Regions from separate parts of the Homo sapiens genome. Here all the other regions are linked to region 2. Evidence: promoter capture Hi-C in 16 types of primary human blood cells and fetal thymus (Javierre and others, 2016). All regions are on one chromosome and are shown on one strand. Each heading gives the region's core, a stretch centred on a gene start or on the middle of the fragment in contact. The rest is flanking DNA. Distances are from core to core; before and after follow the strand shown.

What was found. Contacts are between HindIII fragments. The CHiCAGO score rates a contact against its expected background, and 5 or more counts as called.
Region 1: a contact is called between a fragment that was not itself captured here and the fragment with the promoter of POLR1F in region 2, in 1 of 17 cell types (M2 macrophages). The highest score is 5.2, in M2 macrophages.
Region 3: a fragment that was not itself captured here is called in contact with the fragment with the promoter of POLR1F in region 2 in 1 of 17 cell types (M2 macrophages); the score reaches 6.3 in M2 macrophages.

What each region holds. Positions count from the first base shown.
Region 1 is chr7:21,507,385-21,511,800 of GRCh38, reverse strand. SP4 (Sp4 transcription factor) reads right to left here. Exons shown (of 6, transcript NM_003112.5): 6 at 1-779. The coding sequence ends at 532. Among named protein-coding and RNA genes, the nearest start is that of DNAH11, 33 kb to the left of the region's middle. The HindIII fragment of the contact is 5,640 bases long and covers 1-4,162 here.
Region 2 is chr7:19,706,017-19,710,359 of GRCh38, reverse strand. POLR1F (RNA polymerase I subunit F) reads left to right here and starts at 1,323. Exons shown (of 4, transcript NM_001002926.2): 1 at 1,323-1,597. The coding sequence starts at 1,344. RefSeq lists enhancers at 1,171-1,450, 992-1,594, 1,561-1,630, 1,595-2,199. The HindIII fragment of the contact is 8,345 bases long and covers 1-4,343 here.
Region 3 is chr7:21,257,303-21,261,922 of GRCh38, reverse strand. No RefSeq gene overlaps it. Among named protein-coding and RNA genes, the nearest start is that of SP4, 170 kb to the left of the region's middle. RefSeq lists an enhancer at 1-607. The HindIII fragment of the contact is 7,026 bases long and covers 1-4,620 here.

The DNA of each region.
Region 1 (4,416 bases), core at 93-2,592, 1.8 Mb before region 2:
AGAATTTCTAACATTTAGAAAAGACGGCCAAACTATTTTCGGTTGATTTTCCAAAAATCAAGCTAAGGAAATACAGTATTATCCCTATCATCAGTTAACTATCTGTTTTCTGTGCTATAGAGAAAAAGAATACACGTAAATTATTACTGACTGAATTTATAACAAAGTACTTTCAAAGAAAATAAGTCCAATTAAGGTCCAGCCTGCAAACTACTAAGGTCTTTTTAAACATGTTAACACATGATATTAAGAGATGGGAAGATTCTGTATAAAGGTTATGTGATATATTTCCAAACAACTACAACTTATAGTATGGAGGAAATACTTTTCTGTTTCCAGTACATCAGTCTGCTTTTTGTATTTTTTAAAATTCAACACTTCACGTGTTGACCCCAAACCCTGGAATACTTAAAGAAGCCAAGAATGAAAACATAATTTCCTACTCTGTAATCCACTTGACCAGCCCATTTCCAGATTTTCAAAGGTGTGTAAACAAGTGCAGCACTAGAGGTCTCTGTTATAAATAACTTTTCAGAATTCTTCCATGTTGGTTGAAACATTGGGAGTTGCTGGATTCGAATCTTGAGAAATGGCTGCAACTGTGACAATTCTTGGGGAGCCAAGCACCTCTGTAACAGATGAGTCCAGTTCTCCCGAGGTAACAATGGCAAGAGCTGTCCCACCACCTTTTTTATTCTGGTGCGTTTTGACATGTTTGGAGAGATGATCACTCCGCATAAACCTTTTAGAACATTCCGGGCATTCAAATCTCTTTTCACCTACATAGAAAAACAGTAAATGGCGTTATACACATTTTGCTTAAGTGAAATTATAATTTTTAATAATCTCCCTTCTGGTCACATTATATGACTTTTTGTACAGTTTCACTAGTTGCAAAATGCTTTGTTTTATTTAAAAACGTTATCAAATACACAATGCAAAGAGAAAGACCATGTGATTGAGACGAAAAGACCTGAAGTTTAAGTCCTGCTTCTGCTATGAACTGGAAATAAAAGCTGGAGCAAGTAAATAGCCACTGGAACTCTCAGTTTTCCCATCTACAAAGCAAGAGGGTTTTTAGCAGACAATTTAAAATATCTCTATCAGATGTAACAAATATATATAATGTTCAAGGCTCATGTCCACTCTTCTTCAAAACTGCTAACCTGGGTTTTAGTTTTAATCTTGGAGGCATGAAATATCTTGGAACTATTTCAAATAAACTAAGTTAATAATTTAATAGCATACTGAGTTCTTTACAAGGCAAAAATGGGAGGCAGGCACATGCTACATTCAGAATTTAATAAAGTTTTTAGGTTTCATAAGATAACAGTTTCTGTTGTCCAAAGCAATTCTTAAATATGTTTTCTTCAAAATATAAGATAGTTTTACTGGACCGACTTCTTTGTTTTGGAATAAAAGCTAGTTTAATGTTAACTAAAAACAAAAAGGCCTTTTTGTTTTTGTGTATAATAAATGAGGCATATCAAAATTTGGTTAACTGGTTTATCCTGATGTGCACAATGAATAACTGTTAGCCGTAGATCTTCCCTCTAAAATTGTTACTTAAGGGACTGAAATGTTGTTTTCCCAGTCTGATAAAACTTGGGTAATAAGTGATAGGGTTTGGCTCTGTGTCCTCATCCAAATCTCATCTTGAATTGTGCTCCCATAATTCCCACATGTTGTGGGAGGGACCCAGTGGGAGATAACTGAATAATGGGGGTGGGTTCCCCATACTGTTCTTGAGAATAAGCCTCACAAGATACGATAGTTTTATCAGGGATTTCTGCTTTTGTGTCTTCCTTATTCTCTCTTTGCCTGCCACCATCCACACGAGATGTGATTTGCTCCTCTTTGCCCTCCACCATGATTGTGAGGCCTCCCCAGCCATGTGGAACTGTAAGTCCAATTAAACCTCTTTCTTTTGTAAATTGCCCAGTCTAGGTATGTCTTTATCAGCAGCATGAAAACAGACTAATATAATGAGAAAATTCAATTTGGATAATTTCTTTTCTTGGCCCTGCTTTTGACTTACCAATAAAAAAAATCTATAGGCTCAAGTTGGTCCACGTCAGATATTCTCTCTTTTTCTTTACATTCTCTTTTTCTTTACGTGTGTGCTTTTACTTTTGAGTAAACTTTGAAAAAACCATTAGTCTTCCTTATTATTGTTACAAACAAATATTAAAACTTACAGGAGCACTGCACTCAATACAATATTGTATTAAACATCCATCTGAAGTAACACAAAGAAGATGCACCTCCATGTCATACCACACACCAAGATACATGCTACAAAGATTTAAAACCAAGTATTAAAAAAAAAGGAAAATATTTCTATAACCTAGAGTTTGAAGGTACTTTAAAAAGTACAACAGGTTATTTAGAAACTATAAAAGAGAGAATAGACAAATCTGACTACACAAAAATAAAATACTTTGTATGACTTAAGATTCCATAAAGTTAAAGGAGAGAAAAAAAAGGTCAACAGAAGCATAAAAACAGTGTGATAAAATTTAACACATTTTGATAAGAGCTCTTGGCAAACCAGGAATAAAAATTTATTTCTTTTACCTGCTATACCCCTACATATAATTAATGGAGAAACTTCTGAACTATTACTTTATACATCAGGAACAAGATAAGAATGCTATTATATATATCATTACTATTTTCAACATAATATGAAACATTCTGACGAAGCCAACATATAAGACAGTAAAATGAACTGAGGTACAATCACTGGAAGAAAAAAATTGAAATAGATTATTATTTACAGTTATTACTATTTACATAAATAATCTGAGAAAATAAACAATTAGAATAAATTTGTCGTGGCCAGATTCACAATCAATCGATAATAAGCAACACCATCCATTAATTATATAAATCAACATGTAATGCAAATGTTGAGGCTACAGTGAGCCACTGCACTCTAGCCTGGATGACAGAGCACGGCCTTGTCTCAAAAAAAAAAAAAAAAAAAAAAAGTGTGTAGACAAGGCCCTGACCCCAGGTCAAACACAAACTCTATGCCAAGCCACAGTTGGCAAGCCTGGTCTTGGTATCTTATTCCAGGGTCTAGCTAGGTTCTGACAGGAGGAACCTGGGATTTCTCTGTACAAAGGTGGAGGCAGTGGCCTACTTAAAAAAACAAACAAACTGTATTTAGGCTGGGCGCGGTGGCTCACACCTGTAATCCCAGCACTTTAGGAGGCTGAGGTGGGTGGACCCTGAGGTCAGGAGTTTGAGACCAGCCTGGCCAACATGGTGAAACCCTGTCTCTACTAAAAATACAAAAAAAGTAGCTGGGCGTGGTGATGCACGCCTGTAATCCCAGCTACTTGGGAGGCTGAGGCAGGAGAATCGCTTGAACCAGGCGGGGTGGAGGTTGCAGTGAGATTTGGATGCTAGGAAATAAATTACCTGCTGTAACTGCCCCGGGTGTGCCTGCCTACCAGACACTCCATCTTGCAAGACCACCATTAAAAGTCTCGCTTCCATTGTTTGTGTCTCCAAGTCCATTCTTTGGGTTTGGACAGGTGAATCTGTGTTTCTCACAAACCTGGGGGCCTGTCTGGGATCTCTGTGCCTGCATGGAGTGGGACTCCAGCCGAGAGGGCAGAGGTGTCCCACCCGATTTGGGTGGCCCACTCTGTCCGGGCATCCTGGCTCCCCACAGAAGCCACAGACAAACCTGAGACTGTTATTCAGGAGGCAGCAGAGGCGACACAGGGAGAAAAGCAGGCACTGCAGCAACCAGGCAACCTCGTGCAGAAGCCAAGGGAGGAAAATTGGACTGTAAGTACTGTCTTGGTGGTTGGGCATTTTCAGAGGTTGAGTGTGTGTGACTGAGATGTACCCTAGATATGAAGCAAGTGCAGAGTCCCAATCCATGGTTCCGTTCTCCCGTGAGGAGAATGGACAAAGAATGGCCAGAGAATGGATGAAGTGATTCCATGGGTGTGCAAGAAACCTCCAGTAGGGGGTGCTGAGAACACAGGGAAAAGCTCAGACACAGACTGACCAAAAATGGGAAACAGAAATTCTAGGCCTAGGGGACAAGGGAAAGAGGGAGCCAAAGAGACTCCCTCTGACATTTACCAGCATAGTCCTATGGCCTAAGTTTGGCTCAGATAAAAATTAGGTGTGCCAAGCTTTAATTCTCTATGTGAATAATAAAACCCCAACCTCACAAGAGACAGGTTATGCTCTCTGCTGGATCAAGGAATTAGCCCCATATTCCCACTTAAAGAAGAAGAAAAAGAGCCTAGTAAAAATCCCTCACCCAGGGAAAAGCCCTGGGACCCTATCATCCATGCCCCTCCATACATCTCACAAAATAGGGGACAGGAAAATCAAGGGGCAGCAGGAGGGTTAGAGGAGGAAAGACCTGGACACCATGGCGGAGCC
Region 2 (4,343 bases), core at 74-2,573:
CCACTTAGGCTGTGAGCTCTTTATCACTTATTATTTATTAACTCACTATCAGGTTATTCATTCAAGATGTATTGGTTGGGTTTTTCTTGGTTTCGTTTCTTTGGAGGAGGGATAAATTGTGGGGGGCTACTGTAGTGAACAATACAGATATTATGGTCCCCACTTTAGTGAGTGTAGGAATCTATTGATGGAACAGGCAAGCAAAGACAGTTAATAAAAAATTAACATAAAAACCAACATAGATGGGTAACTACCTAATCCTTATAGAGAAAGAGGAGTGGGGTGCTTGAAAACTCTTTGCAAAGGTATAGAATGTAAAATCTAAGCTAGAAATTCATACATGAGTAGAATTTACCCTTGTGAAAAATGCTATTATATTCCCTGGTGGAAGGAACAGCGTGAGACTGCACAAAGAGAGACCTGAAAGTAGATCAAGCAGCATGATAATATTAGGGTGGGGAGTGTGACAAATGAAGCTGAAGAGAGAGGCTGTGTGCCCACGCAGATCACAAAATGGCCTTGTAACTTATAAGCCATTTTCATGAGTTTGTGTTGTCCTAGAGAAAATGGGGTGCCTATGTAGGGCTTAAACAGGGCACAACACGATCATATGTATTTCAGGGAAGATCTGGCTGCCCCAGAGTGTCCTCCTGACCATTGAGCTAGGCTTCCACAGGCAGGGAGTCCTGCGGTTTTGGCGGCAGGGAAAGAGAATAGTGTCCAAATAGAATGATATTTCCACTTTGGGCAATACAGGTCTTCAGGCTGATTTGATACTTGGGGATACAAAAGAGGATCCGAGGCTGACAGCTTGGCTGTATGATTCCCTGATTTAGCAGTTGCATAATGAGAAGAGAAGCGGGACAGGAGAGAACTAGTGGGTTCGTTTTCAGATGCGTTGCATTACAATTATCAGGCCTGCTTAGGATTCCGTGTACTGCATAAAATATACTCCATAAATATTTTGATTTTTTATTGTACAGTCCAAGCCTGTAAAATTCTACCAAACCCACCTCACTACTGGAAATGATCAAAGTGAGAACCCCCATTTTTAAGCTACCTACTTAATCCAATAAGCCTCTGTGCGAAAACACACATTTGCCTGCCCTTAAAAGAGCAGTCGGTTGGCTTTCCTGCGTGCTCAATGCATTTCCGAGGCTCTAAGCTCCCGTTCTCGAAGCGCGAAAACGCGGTTCCCCCTGCTGGTCAGGGCTGCGTAATGCAGCGAAAAGAGGGGAAATTCCTAGGGGCGTGGTCGTTGGTGGATGGCGTAAAACGAGCGCCGGGGACATGGGATTGTGCTTGCGTCAACGGCGCGCGCCGTGGGAACCTTGACAAGCAGCATGGCTGCAGGTTGCTCAGAGGCGCCGCGGCCAGCGGCGGCTTCTGATGGGTCTCTGGTAGGGCAGGCTGGCGTCCTGCCTTGCCTAGAGTTGCCGACTTATGCCGCTGCTTGTGCGCTGGTGAACAGTCGCTACTCATGCCTGGTGGCCGGGCCGCACCAAAGGCACATCGCGCTGTCGCCCCGCTACCTTAACAGGAAACGCACCGGCATTCGAGAACAGCTTGATGCGGAGCTCCTTCGCTATTCTGAGAGGTACCGATCTCTTTGCCTGTTCCTTCTTTTGTGCACGGGAAGTAAAGCAGGTGGATGTGCTGACGACGCAGCAGAAAGGGGCAAATGGCAAAGGTCGCATTGCCCCCCAGAGCTTAGCCCCCTGGATTTCTAGAGTCGCGATCCGTCCCTCAAGGCCAGTACCGCTCTGGTAAAGATCTATACAGGGTCCCTTTCATAGATAGAGAAGAAAACTTAAAGATGAAGTTCAGGTGTGGGCGGAGGGAGTGGAGATTCTTGCTCCAGAACCCTGGTGTAGGGGTAGGAAAAGACCAGGGATCTGGAGACCTAGTAGGCCCAGTTCTGTTTGGCATTCAACGTTTCATTTATCCCCTTACGGATGATGCTTTCTCATTTGACGATAAAAATCTGGTTTGCAGTGCTTGAGTAGATTCTCATTCCATAGAAGATAGCATACGAAGCATTAGTACAACCGTTCTATTTGTAAAACATGAAGGACCTTTTTTGTTGTTGGATTTCGCTCTGGTAATTTCCCCATTTTCTCTTCTCTTGGACCTGATCTGGGGATTATGAAAATGCCATTAGTTTAGCGGGATTTTGTTGTTTTTAAGAAGATTTATTCAGTCGAACTAGTGAGCCTGTTGCTTTGGGGAGAGAAAAAACCAAAACGTATGCATTTATATTACGGTATTCAAAAGTGACTTGAAAACTTAGAATTACAGAGGTGTGGGGCGGGGGGCGCGGGCATGTGCTTGAGTATTCCTCTGGACTATACTTTGGTTTAAAAGCGGGGTTCTAAAACTAGAGGGAATGGATTCTCTAGGGATTCATGATTGCCCTTCAGGAATTCCTATGTGAAGTTCCTTGGGCACTGCATCGGAAGTTTTTATCAGTTTCTTAAGGGATCCTGGACCTCCACCCATGTCTAGAATCTGCAGATTCTTCCAAGCACCAATATACACTTCTTGTATGTTTATATTACATACCGAACACTTGAGATACAAAAACAAAAAATAAAATCTCTGTTTCAAGGAGCTTTAAGCTGTAGGAGAGATACAAATACAAGCCAATAAATAGTAAAGTGTTAAAATTTGACAGAAATCTAATAAGATAAGGAGTGTAGAATTTGGATCTTGGGACCTTTGAGAACAACTTGATTGAAGAGGGTACTTTAACATGGTAACATTCCAGGCAAAGAGAGTGGCATAAACAAACGGATACTGGATGTGAACTGGTATGCTTTGCCCAGAGAACTGTATCTATTATATAAGTAGAATAAGGTTTATGTCAGGGGAAAGGCATTGGATGCCATTGGAGAGGAGGGCAGGGGGTCAAAGATGACTCAGAGAGGATGGCCATTTTGCTTTTCCCTTCCTGCCATTGCCAGTTTTTGTTATTTTGGGGGTAAGGTGGGGTTGTTGTTGTTTTTCCTTTTGTGTTTCTGTTTTCTTAAGCAGGGTTAGTGCTCCGTCCTCTCAGTCCCTTTAACGCTGAGACTTGGCACACTTTTGAGAAACTAGTACTTCTCTGCAGTCCCTGGCATATCAGATTTGCAGTTTAAGAAACAACATTTACTTAATGGTTAGCTACCAAATAGGATGAGAAAGTGGACAAGGAGAGGAATTAAGATAATGTTATAATTGTCCAAGAGAAAATGATTAGAGAGGATGGATTTGAGAAATTAAAGGATATACAAAGTAGTCATAACATTTGGAAACACAAGCAACTATCTTGTTTTCTGTAACCAGTACTGCCTGCACTTGACAGGCTAGAGGGGGAAATCACGCAGAGTGGCTCTGAACAGATCTGGACACCACTCCTTCCATATTACTTGGGTATGCTGTTTATTCAAGTGCAAATCAGGCACCACACTTTGAACTATGCATTACTAATAAGGGACAAAACATTGAACATATAGTATTAAAGAACTGAAGTGAGGCTACCACCTTGCCCTGATACCTATTTAGGATGGTATCTGAAAAACAAAAGTGAAGGAGGAAAAAGTATATAGTGTTGGGTGCCTGTGTTCACATATCTGATGACTTTTAACAAAATCCCCCTTGAATTTATATACTGCTAAGTTCCTGAAAATTTTAATATATATTAAAACTGTGCAAAGATGACTTTGTGTTGATGTGTTTTAAGAGTTAAATTAGGTGCCTAGCTATTTGTAAATAGATTTGTCCTTTTATTCAAAAGTCAGAGCGAAGGACATTTCCTCATTGTATCAGACTGTCCTGTACATGACAGACTCTTTTCTTCCCTGGCTTCTGCAAAGTTTGTGATAACCATGACTAGTATCACAAATTTCCACATGTCCCCCCTTCCACCAGGGGACCACAGCCCTCCTTCCCCTTGAGAATCACTCTGATACTTGAGAGACAAGGCTTTGATTAGCGGAAATAAAGTCTTGATAATTTGTTTTTCTGTCTAGTATGGCAGTTAATTTTTCTTCCTATTCTCTGTTTTCTGTGTCCCTAACATTGTCTTAGTGATAGGATGATTCCAGCTTAGGAATGCCACATGCGGAAATTAAAACCTCAGAAAATTGCTTTCCCGAGTAAGTCTCTGAGTTAGGGTTTTCCTAATTTGGTAATTCTTAAAGTGTATTTTCTGTGGCTTCTGGCTGTTTTACTAAACAACATCTGTTAGGGATAAATTCTTTCCCTTATTTTATGTGAATTGTTAGAAGTTTGAGTTCAACAAAAAATATTCTTTGCTATCAAAGGCCTTAGAGTCATGTGTGAAATTCAAACATATATACAGA
Region 3 (4,620 bases), core at 1,218-3,717, 1.6 Mb before region 2:
GATAAGGCCATGTTACTTGTTCTTACAAGAGAGATGTAGGAGGTAATAATAGCACATGTCACTTCCAGGTCAAAGTATTGCTGGTGTGAGCCCCTCCAGAGTTTACTTCCCCTTAGCCACAGTGACCAGAATATTCCAGATATTGCTGTCAGCCAGGTCTCAGCGTGAGAACCACATGAATGAGAGTTCCCTGTCAAATGGAGATGGATGTGTTCTGTGAGCGAGCAGTTAACCTTTGTAATGTAAAGTCACTGAGATCTGGGGAGTGCCTGTTACTGAATGATAAGTTAGCTTTTCCCAATTGGTACTGTGTGGCAAACTTTTCTTCCTTATGCCTTATTCAGAGATAGTCGCTGAGTTCTACAAACTAGTAAACTAAGCACAGAAAAATTAACTCTCTCTCTAAAGATGGAATACAGTATAAATGCTGAAAGATTAAAAAAGGAAGTACTTCTGCTTTGCAACCCCAGTACCAAGTTGGAATGCCTTGTAGGCTTATGTCCTGAGGCTTTCATTTTTCTTTCCCTCCGAGCCAGTTAGACCAACGATGTTACCTAATTGGTTAGTAATTAGATGCAGTTCTTGACTGTGACATTTGGGGTCTTTTGAACATTTTCTATTTAAGTCCAGTGGTTGCAATATCGGGAAAAAAAAAAAAAAAACAGAATGTGGCCAATCATATTACCTCAGGGTTTGTTTTTTTTTTTTAGCCCTAAATGTCAGTAGCTAGATTGATACATATCACTTTCTGAAGTACAGGCTGTAAAACTAGGAGTTATAAATGTCAGTTTTGATGTGTGTTTTAGTGGCTTCAAACATCCCCAGTGGAGGAAACAAGCAGGCTGTTACTATGGAAGTTCCTTGTATTACACAGGGACCTACCAGGACTGGCAGTAATTGGTAACACTTGGAAAATCTATGGGGAAAGCAGTTCCCAGATCACTGAAAAAATCCTGGGCTTAAAATCAGAAGATCTGGGTCTGAGGATCAGCTATTTCATTCTGTGTGTTACGCTACTTTATGAGCATCTTTGAGAGCTTGGGGAAATCTCTTTACCTACACCTCAGCTGCCTCATCTGTTAAATACCAGGCAAAAGGCGTTCTCATGAAAAGTGCATGAGATGATGTGGAAACTCAGAACTACCTAGACTCAACGGAATTAACTTCACTCCTAAGGTTGGGTCCATGGATCATGTACCTGACCAGGAATGATAGCAGATGTAGATGCTACAGACAGACCTCTTGGCTAAATCACGACTAGACAATCCCAAAGGGTAAATATCAAACAGGGGCCATTTTTCATTTTTGGTGTTGGTTCAGGGATCTCTCTCAAAAATAAATGGTGGCCAGACATAATGGCTGACGCCTGTAATCTCAGCATTTTGGGAGGCCAAGGTGGGAGGATTGCTTGAGCCTAGGAGTTTGAGACCAGCTTGGGCAACATAGAGAAACCTCATCTCCATGTCAAAAAAAAAAAAAAAAAAATTAGGTAGGCATGATGGCATACACCTGTAGTCTCAGCTATCTGGGAGGCTGAGGTAGGAGCATCACCTGAGCCCAGGGAGGTTGAGGCTGCAGTGAGCCATGATCTTGCCACTGCACTCCAGCCTGGGGGACAGAGTAAGACCTTGTATCAAAATAAAATAAAATAAAAGGAAAGGAAACTGTCCATCACATAAGTGGCTTACACATCGGTATATGTGGCCATGCCTCAGCCCATGTGCTCTAGTGATTTCTGCCACTCTGGGCAATAAGGGCAAATTTGCATCCACGCCTTTGGTCTTTGAGGGGGAATGGCTCACAGTCTTCCTGGTTTGGGAACCTGCAGATAATAAGGAGGCCTGCCCACCGCAGAAGCATTTGCACAGTGTGAATGCCTGGAAGCATGGTGCTAATGTTTTAGCCAATTCCTCTGGCTCTTCCTCACCATCCCATGCTTGGAGTCTCATCAGTCAGCTCTCATCTCAAATTCTGACATTCACTAAGTTGGGCCAACTAAGAGGGGTGCTTAAATTTGGAGCAGAAATCATTTTGAGGAATAAATTTGGAATTAGCATCTTGGTACTGGCTCCAATTAAACAGTCCCTGAGCACAAGTGATGGAGCATGAGTCCAGAGTATGTTTTTCAAATCTTCATAATTTAGTATTTATAGGTATTCCTAGACATTTTGTAGGAAAAAGAAGACTGACCAGCAAGGGATTATAGTTTGCTTTGCCCTCTGTTAGACTTCCTTCTCTCAGGGCTTTATTTTATTGGGTTGCAAAAAATCTGTCCCAATAAATATTTGTTTGATCTTTTAAATTTGCTTTCCAAAAATTTCCATTCAAATATAGCCAAGAAAAAGATTCATTTAGGGTTTTCTTCATATGTGTGTATCAAGATAAAGATAATATAACCTGGAATCCTCAAAGTTCTTAGACACAGAAGTCTAGCATTAAAATTTGAGTTTGTCTTTTTTTTTTTTTTTTTTTTTTTGAGACTGATTCTCGCTCTGTTGCCCAGGCTGGAGTGCAGTGGCACAATCTCAGCTCACTGCAGCCTCTGCTTCCCTGGTTCAAGCGATTCTTCTGCCTCAGCCTCCCAAGTAGCTAGGATTATAGGCCCCCACCACCACACCCAGCTAATTGTTGTATTTTTGGTAGAGACAGGGTTTCACCATGTTGGCTAGGCTGGTCTTAAACTCCTGACCTCAAGTGATCCACCCACCTTGGCCTCCCAAAGGAGTTTGTCTTTTATAGCAATGTAGGATCTGCTATTTTCTCTCCCTTTGACCTTGAGGTCCTCATTCAAGCAAGGGGGCATTTCTCTCTGACATTTATTAAGAATTTACTATTTGCCAGGTACATGCGTATCTATGCTATTTGAGACTACCAAATAGCTCTGTGAGGTAGATATTTTATCCTCATTTTACTGATAAGAAAAATGTGGCTTGGGTGGACTAAGTCATGCCTAAGGTCACTTGGTTGATACATAGCACAGTTTAGGTTTGGATTCTGGGCATGTCACTCCTGAGTTAGTTGCTGTGTCTCAGTGGCAGTGATAAGATAGGTTCAGGAGTCCTGAAAAGTGGATCTGGGTAAATTTTAGGAAAACATGGAGAGGGAGAAGGGAGTTCTAAAAAGATAATGGGATCAGCAAAGTTGAGATAGTTTGAGGTATATTTACATGTGAGAGGACACAAGCAACTAGTTTGGATACCGGAGTTGTTCTTTCTGGAAATTGCTCTTTCCAGAAACATGGAACTACGCACCAATGAAGAAGGTTGGTAAGTCCATACAGCAGAATCTAACATAGCCCTTAAAAAGCCAAGAGATTAACATGTGGGGTCTGTGTGTTGGCCACTAGTTAATCTCTTTTCTCTTCTAAAAAAATGGGGGAAATAATAGTACCTACTTCATAGGGATGTTGTGGAAATTAATGGAACAACTCATGCAAAATGCATAGAAAGGTGCCTAGCACATGGTAAGCACTCAGTAGATGTGAGCTGTTATTATCTACACATACTGACATGAAAAGATGTCCATGATATCTTTTATATCCATGTGAATAGAGGAGGCTGTGAAACAGCAGAAAGAGTGTGATTCCACTTTTGTAAGTATGTATATGTGTATAGGAAATATCTGGAAGCATACATATCTTAATGTTAGCAGTGTTAATCTCTGTGTTTATAAGATCATTCTTTTCTTTTTTAACTTTTATTTTAGGTTTGGGGGTACATGTGAAGGTTTTTTACATAGGTAAAGTCGTGTCATGGGGGTTTGCTATACAGGTTATTTCATCACTCAGGTATTAAGTGCAGTACCCAATAGTTATCTTTTCTGCTCCTCTCCTTCCTCCCCCTTTCCATTCTCAAGTAGACCCAACAACAGAGTCTTGAGTAGACTCAACAATAGTGTCTGTTGTTTCCTTCTTTGTGTTCATGAGTTCTCATCATTGAACTCCCACTTATATGTGAGAATATCTGGTATTTGATTTTCTGTTCCTGCACTAGTTTGCCAAGGATAATAGCCTCCAGCTCCATCCATGTTCCCACAAAAGACACGATCTTGTTCTTTTTTGTGGCTGCATAGTATTTCATGATGTATATGTACCACACTTTCTTTATCCAGTCTGTCCTTGGTGGGCATCTAGATTTATTCTATGTCTTTGCTAAGATCATTATTTTCTTATAAGCGTGAATAATTTTTATAATTAGGGAAACTTGGGTTCCAAAACCAATAAAACAAAAATAAATAAACAACACAAGGAAAAAAAATCTTTAGCTTCTTTGTTTCTTAATTCCAAGGCAAGTGAGAGAAGAGGAAAATGACAAGGTATAAGTCTCATTTCTGTTACCTTGACCAAGTTATTTAACATGGGTCTTATACCTCACAAGATTATTATAAGAAATCTAGCAAGTGAGTATCTGAAAGCACCTCAGCTCTCATAAATATTTCTGTTCACTCATGGCCTCTTTTGCAGACTTTAGGAGAAGGATTTTGTTTTCAGGGCTCAGAAATTTGACAACCAGAATTTTGCCAATAATAATAGTAATAACAACAATGACAAAACATTGTCCAAACCTCAATGACTCTTATTTATATTTATTTATTTATTTTTTAGATGGAGTCTTGCTCTGT